Regions from separate parts of the Homo sapiens genome. Here all the other regions are linked to region 4. Evidence: promoter capture Hi-C in 16 types of primary human blood cells and fetal thymus (Javierre and others, 2016). All regions are on one chromosome and are shown on one strand. Each heading gives the region's core, a stretch centred on a gene start or on the middle of the fragment in contact. The rest is flanking DNA. Distances are from core to core; before and after follow the strand shown. Region 1 holds the start of DTX3 (deltex E3 ubiquitin ligase 3). Region 2 overlaps KIF5A (kinesin family member 5A). Region 3 has its middle 20 kb from the start of OS9. Region 4 holds the start of INHBE (inhibin subunit beta E). Region 5 overlaps B4GALNT1 (beta-1,4-N-acetyl-galactosaminyltransferase 1). Region 6 has its middle 11 kb from the start of B4GALNT1. Region 7 overlaps OS9 (OS9 endoplasmic reticulum lectin).

Region 1 (2,700 bases), core at 52-2,551, 150 kb before region 4:
AAATAAAAACTCCCCTTCCATCTCCTCTCTTCTCTGCAGAATTCCATTATCAGCTTCTCCCCAAGTTGCTCAAGAAGGAACTTCAACATGCTAACCTTCCTCCTTTCTTCCCCAGCTCTGAGGCCCCCAAGAAAGCCTAGGGCACACATAAGAGAAGTCAGGAAAGAAAACGCCCACACAGGTGGAGGTCTTCTTGCCACCTCCCTCAGATCACATGGACCGGAATATTTCCTATGCTCCCCAACTCCTCGCCTGCTCCACATTGCCAAATAATTCAGCCCCTATTGCCAGGGAGCCTTCCTTGAGAGCTAACTCAGTCCCTTCTGCTGAAGTCTGTTAAGGATGTGAACAAAGTGGCAGCAGCCCCTGCAATAACAAAGTTCTCATTGTCACCTTTTAAACCCAGCACAGGCAGTGCTGTCTGTCAGCTCCCAAGTCTGGCATTTAGGGAGGGGCGGGGCTCACACAAGGGCTCAGCTGGAGGGGCCTGATGTTTTCCCTGAGTCTGGTCGCATTGGGCTACGGGGCTGTCTCCACAACACTTCCAAATGCAGCTCAAACAGAAAGAAGGGCCATTAGTGTGACCTCCATTTATTGACTGATCCAAGAAGGAGCAGCTGTCCCTTCATGCCTCCATCATCGTCCCCCAAGGCCAGATGCACCTCGAGATTCATAAGTGAAAATGGAACCCTAGAGTCTCAGCCCATACAGTCTATCCGCGATGCAACACTTCTCTCCCCATCACGGGGGACCCAGGACCTAGGTGTCCTAGGTCCAAGTCCTGCTGGCACAGAAAAGGGAGGCGGGGCCCCAGTTTAGGGTGGGTCTGTGATTCCTCTGTGGCAACCCAGGCCGGACAAGGAACCAGTCTCTCCCTCCAGACAGAGGCCAGAGGGAGGCACAGCCCGGATGGGCAAGGGTCCCTGGGGGCATCCACTGAAGCAGCTCCCGCCCTCCCCCCACGGCCTCCTCCAAGACCCGACCCGGAACCAACTCCCCACATCCCTCAGTAGCCAAAGCCCCCGGATCCCCACCGCCGGGTGGGGGTGCATGTCGGCCCGATCGCAGCCCTCAGAACCCCCGAATGGAGGCCAAGGCTGGAGGGTGCTAGAAAGATGATCGGCCGGGCACGGAGCGGGGAGCCCGGAGCCGCGCGCGGGGAGGGGAGGTGGAGGAGGGGGCGCCGGGGGAGCGGGGGGCGCGTGAGGGGTGCGAGCGGGGCCCGGGGGGCGCGCGGTGGGTGTGGGGGGCGCCGGGCTCACCTACCTCTCGTCAGCGCCGCCATTGCCGGTCACATGACTGAGGCTGTTGCTGGGATGACGGTCCGGGCCTTAGCAACAAGGAGGGGGAGACCCCGAAAGGTGGGGGATTGCAGGGGGTGCAGGCTGAGGAAAAGGGAAGGAGGGAGGACAGCACCCCCTTTCCCCTCACAGGTGATAATCACCGTTCCTTTGACCCCCTTCTATCCGCAAGCCCCTGCCCTTCCTCCCCAAAACAAAAATGGAGGCGCTGTCCCAGTCTTTGGAGGGAGGGGGTGGCGTCATGGAACTGAGGGTAGGAGGTTAAATCCCTGGAGACGCCACCCTACTCGCTCCCCGCTCCCGGCGGAGCACTCTCCCTTTTCTTTCCCAGCCAGCTGCGTAGCAGCTCCCAGGAGCTGGTGGTGGATGGGTGGGTGAAGTGTTGGTGGGTATATGGGGATTCGGGGGGAGGGCGGCAATTTTTTGAATCCTTATGGTAGAAGGGCCTTTGAGGAACAATGTGGGATGGGAAGAGTCATAGTAAAAAGAAAAGCATTGGCTCTAAAAAATAAACAAATCCGGGTACTAAACTATTTCAATCCCCTCCCTCATCTCCTGCCTCTTTCTAGATTGTTACCTCCTATGACCCCCACAACCTGCTCTCAGATGATCATTGGTCAGTGCCTCTGATTTTTCTTTCCACAAACAGGGATATGGAGGCTGGTGCAGAATGGGAAGCGAATACATTTTTTAAAAAGTGGCTCGAGGTGGTGGTGGTGTCAAGTGTATGGTTCAAATAGAGTTAAAAACTCTCAAAGAAGAAAAAAAAAAAGCTCTGCTCTGCTTCCCACATCAAGCAGTCTCCGCCCAATCCAACTCACTTCCCTGGGGCCACATCAAGCCAGGTTTTTCCACCAGCCAAAAGACTTCCTCAGCCAAGACAGGCAGGAATCTCCCAAACTGGCAACAACCTCTATTCATCCACCCCTTTTTCACTCCCCCCTCTAGACTGGAGGGCTAGTCACTTTCTTCACTTTCCCAGGACCCTGCTGTACTCTTCCTTCCCTCCAGGAAGAGGACAGCTTTCCCAGGAAGCCTGGGGGAATACTAGATTCCTTTTCTTTTAGCTGGTGGGCTGAGAGGCCTACTCACCTTTACAAAGATGGAGTGTTAGCAAGCCCAGAACTCTGGGAAGAGGAAGGGTCCCATCACCCTACTCTTCCCTGGCCCTCACTACCGCTGACCTCCCACAAGGTTAAAGACTAAGTTTTCCATTCCCGTGCACACCCTTCACAGCCTTTTTAAAAAAGTTCACAGCCATCTGTCTAGAAACCCACATCCTTAGTTAGGGGCCCAACACCTTGAACACCAGAATTCTTCAGCTGGTCTCTGCACCCTTAAACACAGGCTCCCTGAGAGAAGTGAAATTTAAAAAAAAAAAAAAAAAGGCATTTCTGTA
Region 2 (2,700 bases), core at 160-2,659, 130 kb before region 4:
GGGTGGCCAGGGAAGTACAGGGAGCCAAGACAGCAGGGTCACAAAAGCCAAGGGGAGTTGAGTTTCAAGAAGGAAGGAGTGAAGAAGTATATGTCATGGAGAGGTGAAGCAAAACAAGGACTGTTGTCCAGAAGAAATGTCCACTGTATTTGGTAACTAATGCCATTTGGAAAAGCAGTTTTGAGCAGAACAAGAGGCAGATCAAGGTGGGCTAAGGAATGAATAGGGGGTGAGGAAGTGGGGATGGGAAGCTTGGGATGGTTTCTGGATATCTGACTTTAAGAAAACAAGTAAGATAGAGAAACACACAGTTAGAGAAACACACAGTAAAGGGAGGGACTCTTATGGGAAGGACCTTACAAGGAGATGAGACCACTGAGACAGGCATTAATAAAGAAGATGCACCGAGGCGGGCGGATCACTTGAGGCCAGGAGTTTGAGACAAGCCTGGCCAACATGGTGAAAACCCATCTCCATTAAAAATGCAAAAATTAGCCGGGCATGGTGGTGTGCACATGTAGTCCCAGATACTCAGGAGGCTGAAGCAGGAGAATTGCTTGAACCTGAGAGGCGGAGGTTGCTGTGAGCCGAGATTGTGCCGCTGCACTCCAGCCTGGGCAACAGAGCGAGACTCTGTTTTAAAAAAAAAAAAAAGATGCAAACTCCTCAAGTCTCCATCAGTTTATCAGTTTTAGATATGTTATATATTTGTATATTGAGATTCTATATCAGTATCTCAAGAATGAAATATCTAGAAGGGATTCACTTTAGCCCAGAGAAAGGAGATTTATCACTGGTCAGAAGGGAGAAGGAAAGGATAAGTGCAGACACAGATAGGTAATTGTGTAGGTGCATGTGGGCAGGGGGCAAGATAAAAGAATTTCAGGCTCAAGTGCCTTAGATGACAAAGTTGTTGCCTGACAGAGGAGGGTGGAAAGGGTGTAGACCCTTGCTCTGGGAGATAGGAGAGGAAAGTGAGAAGCACCGAAAGTCCGGGCAGGTTTGTAGGCTCTTCAGTTTTACTTGCCCCAGTTTTTTGGGTGTGCAGTTTTCTCCATCTGAGAAGCTTTGAGATATGAGCAGAGAAGAGAGGTGGAGTATGCTTTAAAATGGGGGTTGGAAGGGTGATTGTAGTGGATGATCCTGGGACAGGAATATTGATCTGTTGGCTGTGGAGAGATGGTGAAACACTGGAGTGGGAAGGAATTGATGCCAGGACTGAGACTGCTCTGGGTCAAAAATGAAAGAACAAGATAGTGCTTTTGGTAAAAATTACAAACAGTATAGATATCCACCAGTCGTAGACTGGTTGAATGAACTGTAGGATAAATATGTGAAAAATTATATTTTAATGAGGTCAATTGATATATATTGACATACAAAGATCTCCAGGATATATTGTCAAGTAGGAAAAAAATCAAGCCTTATGTAAATCTATAGAAAAACATCTGGAAGGATATATTCTATCAAGTTCCATTTCATCCAAAGAAGGCAGTGAGATTGGGAAGGGATAAAGAATATTTACAACAACATAGAGTTATCATTGAATTTATTTTATTTTAAAGTTATCTATGTACACCAAGTAAATACACACAGGGGGTTGCGCAGTTTGGTTTGTCTTCCACGCTGGCATGCAACATTTTGGCAGATGTGAGTGGGCAGGCCAGGTGCCCCTTGCAGTGACCCTGGCTCTGAAAGGGATGCGGTGAAGGTGGGGAGCAGGAGGAGGAGGAGGATGTAGTGTGAAGCTTCTGGTGAAGGGTTTGCGTGTGTGTTGTTTCTTTTTTATGTAAGTGAATTATATTTCCCTTACATCTTGCTAAAGAGAAGGCTGCTCCCTCTGTGTCATCTCTCTCCTCATCTGCGCTACACCCTCACATTTCCTTATGTGTTTTTAAAAGAACCATGTGGTGGCAACATTACATAAAACCCCCTGGATTCTTAAGTGCCCTGCTGACAGCAAATATTAGCCTAAGTCCACAGGCCCACAGGAACCTTCCTTCCACCCTAGTGGGTCTGGAGACAGCATGGCTTGTCTACCCCACCGTTGCCCTCTTTTCCATGAGTTGCAGCTTTAGTGCAGAGGAGCCAGATTGGACCCCCTTCCTCAGAACAATGGTTTTCAAACTACTCCACAGAATCCTCAGGGTCTCTTAGGACTGTTCAAGGGCTCATTTGCTGAGGAGCCTTTGAACAGTCAGTCCTAAGAGACGCTGAGACTTCTTCCACCAAAAAAAAAAAAAAAAAAAAATGCAAACTGCCCAGGTCTGCATTACTTTATTTTTTATATTGGGGTTCTATGTAAGATTTGTTTTTGAAAAACATTTAAAAATCACTGCTTTGGATTTATTCCACACTCCACTGGTATTTTTCCCCCTGCAGTTCTCCCTAACTGCTAAAAGGAGCTCAGCAGGTAAAGGGAGCAGGGCCTCTTTTCCTTGAAGGAGTCATGGGCCAGTGCAGCCTGCGCTTACCAGCTGGCATTCCCACTCAGCTTCCTTTCCTGACTTAGAAGTTGGGTGATAGGCTGCCCTGCCGCTGGAGAATCTTGGTCTTCCTCCTAGAAAAGACTGGATATCAGGACACCAGACTTTCTCTCCTGGTTTGGAATGGCTAGTGACCTCCATCCCTGCAGTTACCTAGAAAACCACCTTAGCACCATGTGGAAGGAAAGGACCGTCTGAAACTAAAACAACAGTC
Region 3 (2,700 bases), core at 136-2,635, 220 kb before region 4:
AATCCAGGAGGCGGAGCTTGCAGTAAGCCGAGATCGCGCCACTGCACTCCAGCCTGGGCGACAGAGCGAGACTCCGTCTCAAAAAAAAAAAAAAAAAGGAATAAAAGTAATTTATTTGATTCCGATCACAAAATACAGGCAAGAAGCACGGGCAATGCCTGTAACTCCTTGATCACACATCTTCCCAGTCTGTGCTTTTATAAATACCCTTCGTACAACAGCAAGCTAATGCTGTCCCCCAAGCGCTTGTTCACATTCTAACAGCTGCAAAGTATAGTGTATGACTAGTTGGGAAGTTAAACAGATGCCCTGCTCACAAGGTAGGGCCCCTCCAATTAGTGTTCCAGCTCCCTTTCGCTGATATTGAAACTGAAGTAATTTGTTGCTCTATTGGTCACAGATGAATTATGCCTGCACAATTCTTCGAGGGCTTTAAGTAACCTTATTGAAAGGCAGTGACTAAGACCCTTTCCTTGCTCCCAAGCTTCCTAAGTCCCAGGCTGCCTGTGGCACCTGGACTGCTGCCCCTGGGTCTCCCACATTCCAGGGCCACGATGGAGGAAGGGCAGGCCAGGCCAAGCATAAGTAATAAACAGTCTTTACCGGGCTCAGGCCAGGAGTCCGTGGGCCTTGAGGACCTCCCTGTATTTGTCAATTTTCTTCTCCACATTCTTTTCGGCCTGTCTCCATAGCCTCAGGAGTTGTTTCTTCTGGTCCTGGATCTTGGCTTTCTCCTTCCCCTTCTCCTCCAGGGTGGCTGTCACGGTCTGGTACTTTCAGCCAATCTCGTGAGCCAGGTACCCCAGGTAGGCGAACTTTCTCGTAGGCTTCAGACGCACAACCTTGGGGGCAACAGGAAGCACCATCCGCTTTTTCCTCTCACGGGGCGGTGGGACGCCACCGAACACCTGGCGGCAGGTCCTAGGCGGCCTGGCTGGCTGCTGTCGTGGGGCGGCCCGGCTCGCAAGCTCTGCCAGAAGACGTGGGGCCTCGGGAAGGGCTGGTGTTCATCCGCTTGCGGAGGAAAGCCAGGTACTTCAACTTGTTTCCGTAGAAATTGCCAGAAATGTCGATGCCCTCGCAGCGCACGATCACCACCTTCCGGCCCAGCAGCACCTGCTTAGCCACGATGGCCGCCAGGCAGCCCAGGAGGTGACCTCGGCCATCGAGCACTAGGACCTGCCCCTCCGCCATCTTCAGCAGCCTCCTAGAAAAGATTGAATTATAAATCAGAAACTTCCCATGAAGAAAATGTCAATACTATTTCTTCACAAGCTTTTCCAAAAATAGAAGAAAATGAAGCTCTTCCAAGCCCATTCAATGAGGTAATACTACTCAGATACCAAAATCAGACAAACACAATACAAGAAAACTGTAGACTATTTCTTATGAATATAGACCCAGAAATTCTCCACAAATTACCATGAATTCAACAACAAATAAAAAGGATTATATACCACGACCAAGTGGGATTTATCCCAGGAATGAAAGCTTGAGTTAACATAAGAAATAAAATTAATGTTGTACATCCTATCCATAGACTAAAGGACAAAAACCACATGGTCATCTTAGTAGACACAGAAAAGACATTTGACAAAATTCAACATCTCTTCATGATAAAAACATTTAATAAACCAGGAAGATAAAGGGACTTAATCAACCTGATAAAAGTCATCAAGCATCTACAAAAAACCCACAACTAATATCATACTTTTTGGTAAAAAATGAATGATTACTCTCTCTAATATTAGGAATAAGACAAGAATACCTACTCTTACCATTTCTATTTGACATTGTACCGGACATTCTAGCCAGTGTAATTAGGCAAGAAGATGAATGTTGTATGTAGATGAATGAATGAATGTAAAAGGCATACAGATTGGAGAGAAAAACAAAACCATCTCTATTTGCAGATGACCTTATATCTAAAATATCCTAAGGAATTCACTAAAAAATCTATTAGAACTAATAGAAGAATTCAACAAGGTTGCAGAATACAAGAATCAATTGTATTTCTATACACTTGCAATGAACAATCTAAGAACAAAAGAACATAATTTCATTTGCAATACCGTCAAAAAGAATAAAATAATTAGAAACACACGTAGCAAAGAAGTACAAAACATATACTCTAGGCCAGGTGCGGTGGCTCATGCGTGTAATCCCAGCACCTTGGGAGGCCAAGGCGGGCGGATCACCTGAGGCCAGGAGTTCGAGACCAGCCTGGCCAACATGGTGAAACCACATTCTACTAAAAATACAAAAAAAAATTAGTCGAGCATGGTGGCGGGTGCCTATAATCTCAGCTACTTGGGAGGCTGAGGCAGGAGAATTGCTTGAACCCGGGAGGCCAGCCAAGGTTGCGGTGAGCTGAAATTGCGCCACTGCACTCCAGCCTGGGTGACAGAGCAGGACTCCATCTCAAAAAAAAAGAGAAAAGAGGATAAAAGAGGCTAAGTGAACAAAGCTAGTCTTCAAAACCACATATTGTGTGATTACATTTATATGAAATGCCCAGAATAGGTAATTCAATGGACAGAAAGTAGATAAGAGGTTACGTTGGGCTGGGGAGCTCACTGAAAGTTGGGAAATGGGTAGTGACTGCTAACGGGTGCAGAGTTTTTTTGGGGGTGATAAAAATGTTCTAGAACTGATTGTAGTGCACAACTCTGTGAATATACTAAAAACCATTGAATCTAC
Region 4 (2,700 bases), core at 103-2,602:
GGGCTGCCAGCCAGGTGGGGAGGGCACTGCCCACTGCAGTAATTCAGCTGGTACCCCTCGGGCTGCAGTATCCAGTCCCGCCATCCCAGTTCCTGGAAGTCTACGTAATGGTCTCGCCTGCAACATAAGGGGGTCGCAGGCTCACAGGTGGGGGTCCTCCTCCTGGCCCGGCCTGCTCCAGGCTCATTGGCTCGGATCTTAAGCTCTAGGAAGGGCTGCTGGTGTCCTGCTGTGTCCAAGAGCCGCCTCGGTTGTCCAGTAACTGTGCTGTTGCCTTCTAGGGGTCTGCAGTCTAGTTGCAGTTTCAGGACACCAGACTTCTCACCCCTCAAGCCACTAGAGGGCAGAGTTAAGGTATGCCAGCCCAGGTTGGTGATGTGGTGCTCAGCCAGGAGAGTGCGGGACCCTTGGCGCCTCCTCCTTGGTCCCCATCGGAAGATCCTCAAGCAAAGAGTGCCAGGAAGGGTGGGGAGCACGTGCAGCCACAGGCGGGCATGGTACAGGTGGTGGGACCGAGGAGTGGACAGGTGAAAAGTGAGCAGGGAGCTGTAGGCTGAAGTGGAGTCTGCCCGAAAGACAGAAAAGGGAAAGAAAATGTGAGTAGAGATGAAGCTCTCCTCTGAGACTCCCCAAGCCCTGCCCACTGCTCTCCCTCGAACCTACCTCTAGAAAAGTAGAGACTGCTTTGTGTCCTCTGCAACCAGTCCCTGCCCCAGCTCCTCCTTCTCCTGCCACACCCCACTCCCTCTGCTGCTCCTGCCAGGCTCCCCTTCTGCCTCCCTTTCCCTGTCTGCTCTTTGCCTGTTGCTCTCTCCCTCACCCACCTGTGACAGTAGCAAAGCTGATGACCTCCTCCCCATTCCCTGGAGCCACACTCCCTGGCTGTAGTCTCCGGAGGGCTCTGGTCAGCGCTGCCTGGGGTGGAGGATGAGTTATTCTGGGACGACTGGTCAGGTGCAACCCATCCAGGATTTGCTGCTTGGCTAGCTCCAGCACCAGAGCTCGTTCTGCTTGGGGTGCCAGTTTGGAGCCCCCACAGGAGGGACACACAGACCCTGTCCCCTGTGCTCGCACCAGTGCCCACAGCAGCACCAGCCAGAGCTGGACATCAGGGAGCCGCATGCTCCTGGTGAATGGCCCTGGTTCAGGAGCCTCGGATGGCAGTTGCTCCGTCTGTTGAGTCTGATTGCTGGGGGCCAATGAGGGCACAGTGACAGCAGACACCACTGCCACACCTACCCTTGGCCAAGGGTACAGCCACCTGTCTTCTATTGTCTGGGACTCAGGAAGGCTGAAAGTAGATCATCTGATGGATAGCTGTGCTTGACCCTCACAGCTCATGTCTGGCTACTGACCTGGGGCCTCTTTAGAGCCAGCTGCCTGGGTCTTCCAAACCTAGTGGTCAGCCAGCCGACCTACCCTCTGAGTCCCAGGATTGGCCAGCTGTGCTGCCCATCAGGCCCCTGCAGGGGGTGGAGGTCCTCCTCCCCATCAGCTCAGGTTTCACCATCTGGCCATGGTGACTGGGCCTGAAGTAGGGGTATGGGGGTGGGGGGGTGCAATGTGGACACGCATGATGCAAGAAAGAGGATGATTTCACATGCTCAGTCCCCAAGGTCTGGGACTTGGGGGAGGGAACGCCTTATGAGCCAGGTGGGGAAGGGCAATTTTCCCTCATACCTCTAGTCTTTCTAGCTTCACCACTGCTGCAGCAGTTTCCATGAGGCAGCTGTGAGTTCCAGTGGGTATTCCTCTGGGGCCCTTAGGCCAGAAGGAAAATTCTGGTCTCTTTATTTCTAGCACTGGGGCTAGGACAGGGATGAGGGTTTGGGCGGGTAGGAGAATGGAGCCCTCTTGCTCAGGCCCAGGTGGCAGTGCCACGAGGCACAGAAGTCACCCCCTGACCCTGCCTGTGCTGGCCGCCCAGAGTCCAGTTGGCCTGGAGCATGATGTGGAGCATGATGTGGAGGAGGGCCAGAGCCGGCGGGGGTTGGGGCGGGGAACGTGTTCCTGTGATGTCTGGGGAAGCCCAGAGAGGTGGTGGTGGTGGTGATGCAATCTTACACAGGGCAGAGTCCATCAGGACTGTCAGGGGGCATGACACTTGGGAGGGCCTATACCCAGCTGCCACTTCTCTTTCAAGGGACTGTGAGAGTTGCCTAAATTTGGGGCATCCTAGAAGTAGTGCCAGGCCTCCTTTTTTTCTTACATTTTTAAAATTTAAATTTTATTTTATTTTACTGAGGTAAGGTCTCAATCTGTTGTTCAGGCTGGAGTGTAGTGGCACAATCATAGCTCACTGCAGCCTTGAATTCCTGGGCTCAGACAATCCTTCTGCCTCAGCCTCCTTAGTAGTTGGGACTACAGGTGCGCACCACCACACCTGGCTAATTTTTAAATTTCCCACAGAGACAGGGTCTCGCTATGTTGCCCAGGCTGGTCTTGAACTCCTGGGCTCAAGCAATCCACTTGCCTCAGCCTCCTAAAGTGCTGAGGTTACAGGCGTGAGCCACCGCACCACCCTTCAGGCCTGTTAATGGGGGTAGAAAATGGGAGCTCTAAGAGCTTTTGACAACAAAGCAAGGCAAATACAGCAGTCTTGGTTCCCAGTCTCAGCCCTCCTGACCACATTTTCTCACTGTCTTTATTTTATTTTATTTTATTTTATTTTTTGAGGCTGAGTCTCGCTCTGTCGCCCAG
Region 5 (2,700 bases), core at 64-2,563, 170 kb before region 4:
ACACAGAGTAGGCACTTAAATATTGATTGGCTGAAAACAGAATGTTATCCCACCCTTCAGGGTCAAATGCCATGTCCTTTCTTCCCAGTCCGGTTCTCCACCGAGGGACATGAGGCTGCTTTCACTATCCGCATAAGACACCCGCCCAACCCTCGGCTGTACCCACCTGGGTCTCTACCCCAGGGAGGTGAGGCTGGTAGGGGCAGGGACATATTAGAACCAGCCTTGGTGGGGAGCAAGTTGGGAGAGGGCAGTCCTGGGAGGGGATATCTACCTGTTCCCCTCTCCCAACCCTCCTTGTCTGCACCCAACCCTGTGCCCCCAATCTCAGCCCAGTACAACATCAGCGCTCTAGTCACGATTGCCACCAAGACCTTCCTCCGTTATGATCGGCTACGGGCTCTCATCACCAGTATCCGCCGCTTCTACCCAACGGTTACCGTGGTCATCGCTGACGACAGCGACAAGCCAGAGCGCGTTAGTGGCCCCTACGTGGAACACTATCTCATGCCCTTCGGCAAGGTGTGCAGCTAGCAGGCTGAACGGCAGGCCAGAGGACTCCCGCAGGGGGTGTGCCCTCAATCTGCAGCCTCCAGGGTAGTGATTCGAGGACCACCTGCCTCAGAATCATGGGGTGCCTGTTAAGCATGAGGATTCCTGGAATGTAAGCTTCGTGGGAGCAGGAAATTCTCTCTGAATTCTTAGAATGGTGCTTAGTGCCTAATGGCATTCAATAAAATAGCTGATGAATGAATAAATAAATGCACACGGAAATTAAACGCATTCTAAGACCACTGACTTGGAACCTCTGTGGGGATCTGCATTTCTTTTACCTAGCTCCTGGCCTTTCGAAAGCACTCAAAAGTCTGGAGAAGAATACAAGCTGAGAAGGGTCGGGGGAGAGAAAGAAAGGTGGCAGAGGGCCATGTCCTATTTCTGCAGCCTCCCCAACCACACACACCTTTCTGCCAGGGCTGGTTCGCAGGCCGGAACCTGGCCGTGTCTCAAGTAACCACCAAGTACGTGCTGTGGGTGGACGACGACTTCGTCTTCACGGCGCGGACGCGGCTGGAGAGGCTTGTGGACGTGCTGGAGCGGACGCCGCTGGACCTGGTAGGGCAGGGGCTGCAGGATGTGGGGGTGGAGAAGGGCCTTGAACAGGCTAAGGCCACAGCGGGGGCGCTGCGGCCAGGAACGGCCAGCCCTAGGACAAAGAGAGAACCACGAAGTGGGGCCTGGGAACTGTCTGGGTCCTGCAGGGGTGAAGCGGAAGAGGATGGGGCAGGGGTACCCCCGAAGGCACCGGAGCGCAGACCTTGACCCCTTCGGGTCCCCTATCCCAGGCCCGCCTGGAGGCAACCTCCCTCTCCCTGCAGGTGGGGGGCGCGGTGCGCGAGATCTCCGGCTTTGCCACCACTTATCGGCAGCTGCTGAGCGTGGAGCCCGGCGCCCCAGGCCTCGGGAACTGCCTCCGGCAAAGGCGCGGCTTCCACCACGAGCTCGTCGGCTTCCCAGGCTGCGTGGTCACCGACGGCGTGGTTAACTTCTTCCTGGCGCGGACTGACAAGGTGCGCGAGGTCGGTTTCGACCCCCGCCTCAGCCGCGTGGCTCATCTGGGTGAGTGGCACCCCCTCCCGGTCGACCCTGGCAGGAGCCCCACGGGGAGCTGGCGCACGGTCACGCGCCTCTCCTCCTAGGCTGCACCCGCGCCCAGCCGCCAGCGGGAACCCCAGAACAGTTCTGCAGTGATTTACCAAGACCTGCACCTGGGCGAGAGACAGCTCCCACCCTCTCCCAGCCCCGCATACTCTTTTTTTTTTTTTATAAATATATATATTTTTTGTTATACTTTAAGTTCTAGGGTACATGTGCACAACGTGCAGGTTTGTTACATGTGTATACATGTGCCATGTTGAATCTCCATTCCCAGCACAGCCGCTGGGCCCCCATAAGCTTCCCCATCACTGTTCCCGCCACCCCTGCTCTACTCCCAGGGCTTCCCCTAGTTCAGACCACAGTCGGTGCAACCCATCTGGCGTTTATTTAACCTCTGGGAGTAGGGGTAGGTTTTTCGATTTTCAAAGCACAAGTATATTGACTCCATTTACACAAGAGTAAGACTGAGACCCAGGGAGTTGATTTACATGCTCAGGGTCCTTAGAAACAAGCCTTTGCACACACACTTTCCACACCCTAAATTTGAGAGTTCTCCCTTACCAGTCGGCCTTCTGCACCCTCAGGATCCCTCACTGTGTACTCCCCTCCACCCCCAGAATTCTTCTTGGATGGGCTTGGTTCCCTTCGGGTTGGCTCCTGCTCCGACGTCGTGGTGGATCATGCATCCAAACTGAAGCTGCCTTGGACATCAAGGGATGCCGGAGCAGAGACTTACGCCCGGTACCGTTACCCAGGATCACTGGACGAGAGCCAGATGGCCAAACACCGGCTGCTCTTCTTCAAACACCGGCTGCAGTGCATGACCTCCCAGTGATGGCCCGCTGGGGATTTCTGACTGTCAGGCTGGGCCTGCCTCCTTGTCCCTGCCAGGAATTTCCAACAAACCCCACCACCCTGTGAGCACTCTACTGGCTGTCCCTGAGCCTCTAGTTCCTCACTCTTCCTTTTCAGAACCTGATGCCCAGTAGGGGTTGTCCTGGTGACACCCCTCCTTTTTCCAGTGCCCAGAGGCCTGGTGGAGCC
Region 6 (2,700 bases), core at 71-2,570, 190 kb before region 4:
TGTGAGACACCATGCCTGGCCTAATTTTTTATCTAGATTATTTATGAAAACTGCAATAGTCATTGTTTAAAGTTATGGAACCACCATTGCAAAATTATAACTGAGACAGTGAAAAGATTTAACCTAACTGACTCCATCTTGCTTCTAACCTCCAAACTGCCCTTGCTCATCCTGGACTTTGGGAGGAACTTAGCTTATAGTTTAGCTTTCAGACAAAGCTAAACTAATAGCAGTTCAAACAAATAGCAGTTCTTTCCCAAAACAAACCTCATTACTACCTGTGGACTAGACTGCCTAAAGTCACAGAATTAGAAGTTATGGTAATTTTATTAAATAATTCAAGATGTAGTTATTTTCATTAAACCAATATCAATGTCTTATTTATTAAAGACTATACAAGCAAAGTTTTATTCTGTCTTGGGCTAGGTTTATAATTTTGTAAGCCCTATGCCAAGTTTTGACAACTTATAGTATTTGGCAGGGATAAGTATGAAATTGCTTGATTAAGAAATGCAAATAAAAATGTATGCTGGCAATTCTTATGACATTTCTAATATTATTTTACCAATAATTTTAAAGCTAGTTTATTTATTAAAGATTTTACTTAAGTTCTGTAAACTTGAAAAAGCATTTGACTAGTCTTTTCTTTTTTCTTGATAAAGTATATGATTCAAGCACTTTTACTTTTCTTTAAGCCAATTAATTAGAGCTCTTTTATATATTTTCAGTAGTGAAACATTGTGTACACAACACATAAATACATAGATGTGCATGTATTTCATGCCTATCAAGGTACATCTTATAGATTCAAAAAACCCTTTTTTTCCCCCTGTCTTAGACTTTCAGATTCTTGATAACCTGCTTCACAACCCTAGGCAGTTGTTAGCAAAACAGACTTAAATTTGCATATTAAAGGAAATAACCCAGGTGAAAATTAAATAGCAAAATTTACATCATAAGATACAGAGAGGGCCGGGCGTGGTGGCTCATGCCTGTAATCCCAGCACTTTGGGAGGCTGAGGTGGGTGGATCACCTGAGGTCAGGAGTTCAAGACCAGCCTGACCAACATGGTGAAATTCCATCTGTACTAAAAATACAAAAAATTAGCCAGGCATGGTGTGGAGTGCCTGTAATCCCAGCTACTTGGGAGGCTGAGGCAGGAGAATAACTTGAAACCAGGAGGCGGAAGTTGCAGTGAGCCGAGATTATGCCATTGCACTGCAGCCTGGGCAGCAAGAGCTAAACTCCGTCTCAAAAAAAAAAAAAAAAAACGAACATGAAGGCCTTTTAAATACAAACATACACACGCTCTCATACACACATACATTTTGGATGTTAGCTTTTAATTAAGCTGACTTTAACCATTAAGCTGCTTTAAAAAAATTTTTTTTCTTTTTTTTGTTTTTTTTTTTAGGCCAGGCGCGGTGGCTCACACCTGTAATCCCAGCACTTTGGGAGGCTGAGGCTGGCAGATCACAAGGTCAGGAGATCAAGACCATCCTGGCTAACATGGTGAAACCCCATCTCTACTAAAAATACAAAAAATTAGCCAGGCATGGCAGCACTCACCTGTAGTCCCAGCTACTTGGGAGGCTGAGGCAAGAGAATCATTTGAACTTGGGAGGTGGAAGCTGCAGTGAGCTGAGATTGCACCACTGCACTCCAGCCTGGGCAACAGAGCAAGACTCCATCTCAAAAACAAAAATTTTTTTTAAATCTCATTACTGAAGCAGCCTTATTGTCTGGGGTGATACCCAAGGTTTATTATCTCACAGCCACAAAGATCAAGGACACGAACACACAAGAGTGAGGTTAAGAATGGAAGTTTAGGGCCAGGCGTGGTGGCTCATGCCTGTAATCCCAGCACTTTGGGAGGCCAAGGTGGGTGGATCACCTGAGGTCAGGAGTTCGAGACCAGCCTGGCCAACATGGTGAAACCCTGTCTCCTCTAAAAATACAAAAATTAGCTGGGTGTGGTGGCAGGCACCTGTAATCCCAGCTACTTGGGAGGCTGAGGCAGGAGAATTGCTTGAACCCAGGGGGCAGAGGTTGCAGTGAGCCAAGATCACACCATTGACTCCAGCCTGGGCTACAAGAGCTAAACTCTGTCTCCAAAAAAAAAAAAAAAAAAAAAAAAAAAAAAAAACGCTCGGCGCGGTGGCTTATGCCTGTAATCCCGGCTCTCTGGGAGGCCAAGGCAGGCAGATCACCTGAGATCAGGAGTTCGAGAGCAGCCTGGTCAACATGGTGAAACCCCATCTCTACTAAAAATACAAAAATTAGCCAGGTGTAGTGGTGGGTGCCTGTAATCCCAGGTTCTTGGGAAGCTGAGGCAGGAGAATCACTTGAACCCAAGAGGCGGAGGTTGCAGTGAGCCAAGATTGCGCCACTGCACTCCAGCCTGGGCGACAGACAGGGACTCCGTCTCAAAAAAAAAAAAAAGAGAATGGACGTTTAATTGGCAAAAGAAAGTGAATAGCTCTCTGCTACAGAAAGGGGTCCTGGAAAAATGGATTGCTGGATCCACAGTGAAATGCAGGGAGTTTTATAGATGAGCTGATGGGGAGGCGGTGTCTGATTTACATAGAGTGCAAAAAACTGGTTAGGACCAGATGTGCCATTTGCATAGGGCATGAATCTCTGGTAGCCTCCATCCTAATCTTTATTTTATTTTATTTTTTTGAGACTAGGTCTCACTC
Region 7 (2,700 bases), core at 33-2,532, 250 kb before region 4:
TCTTTTGCTCCTGCTTCCACCATGTGAGACTCTGGCTCCCCACTTGCCTTTCACCATGATTGGAAGCTTCCTAAATCCTCCTCAGAAGTAGAGGCTGCTATGCTTCCTGTATGGCCAGCACAACTGTGAGACAATTAAACCTCTTTTCTTTATAAATTGCCCAGTCACAGGTATTTCTTTATAACAATGTGAGAATGGACTAATACAATGTTAGTGAAATACTAAATGAACAACAGAGAGGATAAACAAAACCAAAAGGTGGTTATTGGACTAATAAACTAGACAAGCCTCTGGCAACATAGATCAAGAAAAAAGAGAAAAGGCAAAGTCAATATTAGGAATGCAAAAGAGGATATATTTACAAAAAGAGATTATTAAAAAACAAAAAAATCTGTAATTTTATACTAATACATTTGAAAATTTAGACAAATGAATAATGGCCTATGAAATTATACTTTATTAAAGCTTCATGATGCAGCAAACCAAAAAAGTCTTATAATCTTTAAATAAATTAAATCAGTAGCAACAACGATCCCCCCAATATACCGGTTTTGTAGCATATTGTGGGGATGGGGAGGATTTATTTTATCTAAACTTTTTTTTTTTTTTTTTTTTTTTCAGAGAGTCATGCTCTGTCACCCAGGCTGGAGTCCAGTGGCGTGATAACAGCTCCTAACAGCCTCAACCTCTCCAACTAAAGCAATCCTCCTGCTTCAGCCTCCCAAGTAACTGGGACTACAGGTGTACACCACCACATCAGGCTAATTTAAAACTTTTTTTTTGAGAGACAGGAGTCTCACTATGTTGCTCAGGCTGGGCTCCTAGGCTCAAGAAATCTTCCTGCCTTGGCCTCCCAAAGTGTTGGGATTACAGGCATGAGCCACCACACCCGACCCTACCTAACCTTTGAAGAATAATCTCTATCTTAGCAAACTGCTCCACAGAGCAGAAAAAGAGGGAAGCTCCTCAAGATATTTTATGAAGTGAATGCAACTTTATACAAAAACAAGGTAAGTACAAGAAGAGAAAATTATAGACCAATTCACTTACGAAAATAGTTATAAAAGTTAATTATACTATCAGGATACTGAATATAGCAATGTACAAAAAAAAAACTTCATGACCATGGATTATCCCAGAAGTGAAAGAATAAAAAAAAACTAGAAAATAAATTAACATTTTTAATATTAAAAAAACCATATGACTATCTCAATAGACACAGAATAAGCATGTGTTAAACTTCCACACCTATACATGGTGAAAATATCCAGCAGTCTAGGTACAGAATGGAACTTCACATACCTGATAAAAGGTATCTGCAAAAAGCCTGCAGGAAAACATCACGCTAACAGTGAAACTTCAGGAGCATCCCCTTTAAAGTCAGAAACAAGTCAAGGATGCCCATCATTGCCACTTCTGTTGCACTCGAGGTATAAGAAAAATGAAATGTATACAACTTAGAAAGGAAGAAACCAAAACTGTTTCTCTTGCAGATGACATAATTATCTATACAGAAAATCCACAAGAATTTGTGAACTACTAAAAATGAAAGAGTTCAAAAAAGAGTTGCTGAGTGTAAGATCAATATGTAAAACCAATAATGTGACCATGTACCAGCAACAATCAGAAAACGGAATTTTTGGCCAGGCACAGTGGCTCATTGCCTGTAATCCCAGCACTTTAGTAGGCCGACGGTGGATCACATGAGGCCAGGAGTTTGAGACTAGCCTGGCCAATATGACAAAACCCCCGCTCTAAAAAAATTACAATAATTAGCTGGGCGTGGTGGTACGCACCTGTAATCCCAGCTACTCGGGAGGTTGAGGCAGAGAATCACTTGAACCTGGGAGGCAGAGGCTGCAGTGAGCCAAGATCGCACCCCAGCCTTGATGACAGAGCAAGACCCCATCTCAAAAAATAATAATAATAAAGAAAATGAAATTTGTAAAAGATGCTACTTAAAATAGCATCTAAAACTATAAGGTCCTGTATGTTTGAAATATATGCATACACAAACAAGACAAAAATAAAAACTATAAGGTATCTAGACTAATCTCACATAAGATGTAGAAGAACTTTTAGAGAAAATTAAAGCTTTACTAAAATATAGGACAACAAGTAAATGGAAACAAACACGTTCATAGTGTATGAAGACTTCATATTATAAAGTATCAATTCTCTTCAAATCAGTCTAAAATTAAATTCCAGCCAAAATCCCCAAAAGGAGTTTTAACAGAACTTGGCCAATGATAGCCCCAACAGTTTTGAAGAAAAAAGGGGAGTATATCCTACCAGATACCAAGATTTATGAAAAAGCTATAGTAATTAAAACAACGTGGTAATGACATAGGAATAGATAGACTATTGGAACAAAAGAGAAGCCAAGAAGAAAATGCACATATATTTGAGAACTTGGTAAATAACTGAGGAGGCATTACAAATCAGAGAGGAATGTATGGACTATTCAATAAACAGTGCTGGGGCAACTGTGGAAAATAGGTGTATCTAGGTCCTAACCTTATAACATACATTAAGATAAATTTTTACTGAATTGTAGTCCAAAGTATGAGAAACTCTATTCACACTTTTCTACTTTTTTAGAAACCTGAAAAAAACAGATGAATAGTAAATAGGAAAGGATTAAATAAAAGACATAAGATGTATAAGGTATAAAGAAAAAGACTGATAAGTTTGACTATA

The links. The method cuts DNA at HindIII sites, captures the fragments that hold promoters and counts their contacts. A CHiCAGO score of 5 or more calls a contact.
Region 1: the fragment with the promoter of DTX3 here is called in contact with the fragment with the promoter of INHBE in region 4 in 2 of 17 cell types (neutrophils and M2 macrophages); the score reaches 6.7 in neutrophils.
Region 2: a contact is called between a fragment that was not itself captured here and the fragment with the promoter of INHBE in region 4, in 4 of 17 cell types (naive CD8 T cells, total CD8 T cells, naive B cells and 1 more). The highest score is 8.7, in naive CD8 T cells.
Region 3: a fragment that was not itself captured here is called in contact with the fragment with the promoter of INHBE in region 4 in 4 of 17 cell types (erythroblasts, M1 macrophages, naive CD8 T cells and 1 more); the score reaches 8.1 in erythroblasts.
Region 5: a contact is called between a fragment that was not itself captured here and the fragment with the promoter of INHBE in region 4, in 5 of 17 cell types (naive CD4 T cells, naive CD8 T cells, naive B cells and 2 more). The highest score is 6.7, in naive CD4 T cells.
Region 6: a contact is called between a fragment that was not itself captured here and the fragment with the promoter of INHBE in region 4, in 1 of 17 cell types (M2 macrophages). The highest score is 5.2, in M2 macrophages.
Region 7: a contact is called between a fragment that was not itself captured here and the fragment with the promoter of INHBE in region 4, in 3 of 17 cell types (M2 macrophages, naive CD8 T cells and erythroblasts). The highest score is 6.8, in M2 macrophages.

What each region holds. Positions count from the first base shown.
Region 1 is chr12:57,603,425-57,606,124 of GRCh38, reverse strand. DTX3 (deltex E3 ubiquitin ligase 3) reads right to left here and starts at 1,301. Exons shown (of 7, transcript NM_178502.4): 1 at 1,267-1,301; 2 at 394-554. RefSeq lists enhancers at 907-1,419, 1,420-1,931. The HindIII fragment of the contact is 28,357 bases long and covers 1-2,700 here.
Region 2 is chr12:57,585,466-57,588,165 of GRCh38, reverse strand. KIF5A (kinesin family member 5A) reads right to left here. Exons shown (of 29, transcript NM_004984.4): 29 at 1,533-2,700. Among named protein-coding and RNA genes, the nearest start is that of PIP4K2C, 4.4 kb to the left of the region's middle. The HindIII fragment of the contact is 682 bases long and covers 1,069-1,750 here.
Region 3 is chr12:57,673,159-57,675,858 of GRCh38, reverse strand. It overlaps the pseudogene RPL13AP23. Among named protein-coding and RNA genes, the nearest start is that of OS9, 20 kb to the left of the region's middle. The HindIII fragment of the contact is 216 bases long and covers 1,278-1,493 here.
Region 4 is chr12:57,453,959-57,456,658 of GRCh38, reverse strand. It overlaps INHBE (inhibin subunit beta E), which reads right to left and starts at 1,352. Exons shown (of 2, transcript NM_031479.5): 1 at 825-1,352; 2 at 1-565. The coding sequence starts at 1,122. RefSeq lists an enhancer at 1,379-1,673. The HindIII fragment of the contact is 16,061 bases long and covers 1-2,700 here.
Region 5 is chr12:57,626,535-57,629,234 of GRCh38, reverse strand. It overlaps B4GALNT1 (beta-1,4-N-acetyl-galactosaminyltransferase 1), which reads left to right. Exons shown (of 11, transcript NM_001478.5): 7 at 89-187; 8 at 332-522; 9 at 973-1,113; 10 at 1,377-1,617; 11 at 2,274-2,700. The coding sequence ends at 2,491. Among named protein-coding and RNA genes, the nearest start is that of B4GALNT1, 5.3 kb to the left of the region's middle. The HindIII fragment of the contact is 1,284 bases long and covers 672-1,955 here.
Region 6 is chr12:57,642,658-57,645,357 of GRCh38, reverse strand. No RefSeq gene overlaps it. Among named protein-coding and RNA genes, the nearest start is that of B4GALNT1, 11 kb to the right of the region's middle. The HindIII fragment of the contact is 3,621 bases long and covers 1-2,700 here.
Region 7 is chr12:57,704,765-57,707,464 of GRCh38, reverse strand. The region is part of intron 5 of OS9 (OS9 endoplasmic reticulum lectin); the gene reads right to left. Among named protein-coding and RNA genes, the nearest start is that of OS9, 12 kb to the right of the region's middle. The HindIII fragment of the contact is 1,629 bases long and covers 468-2,096 here.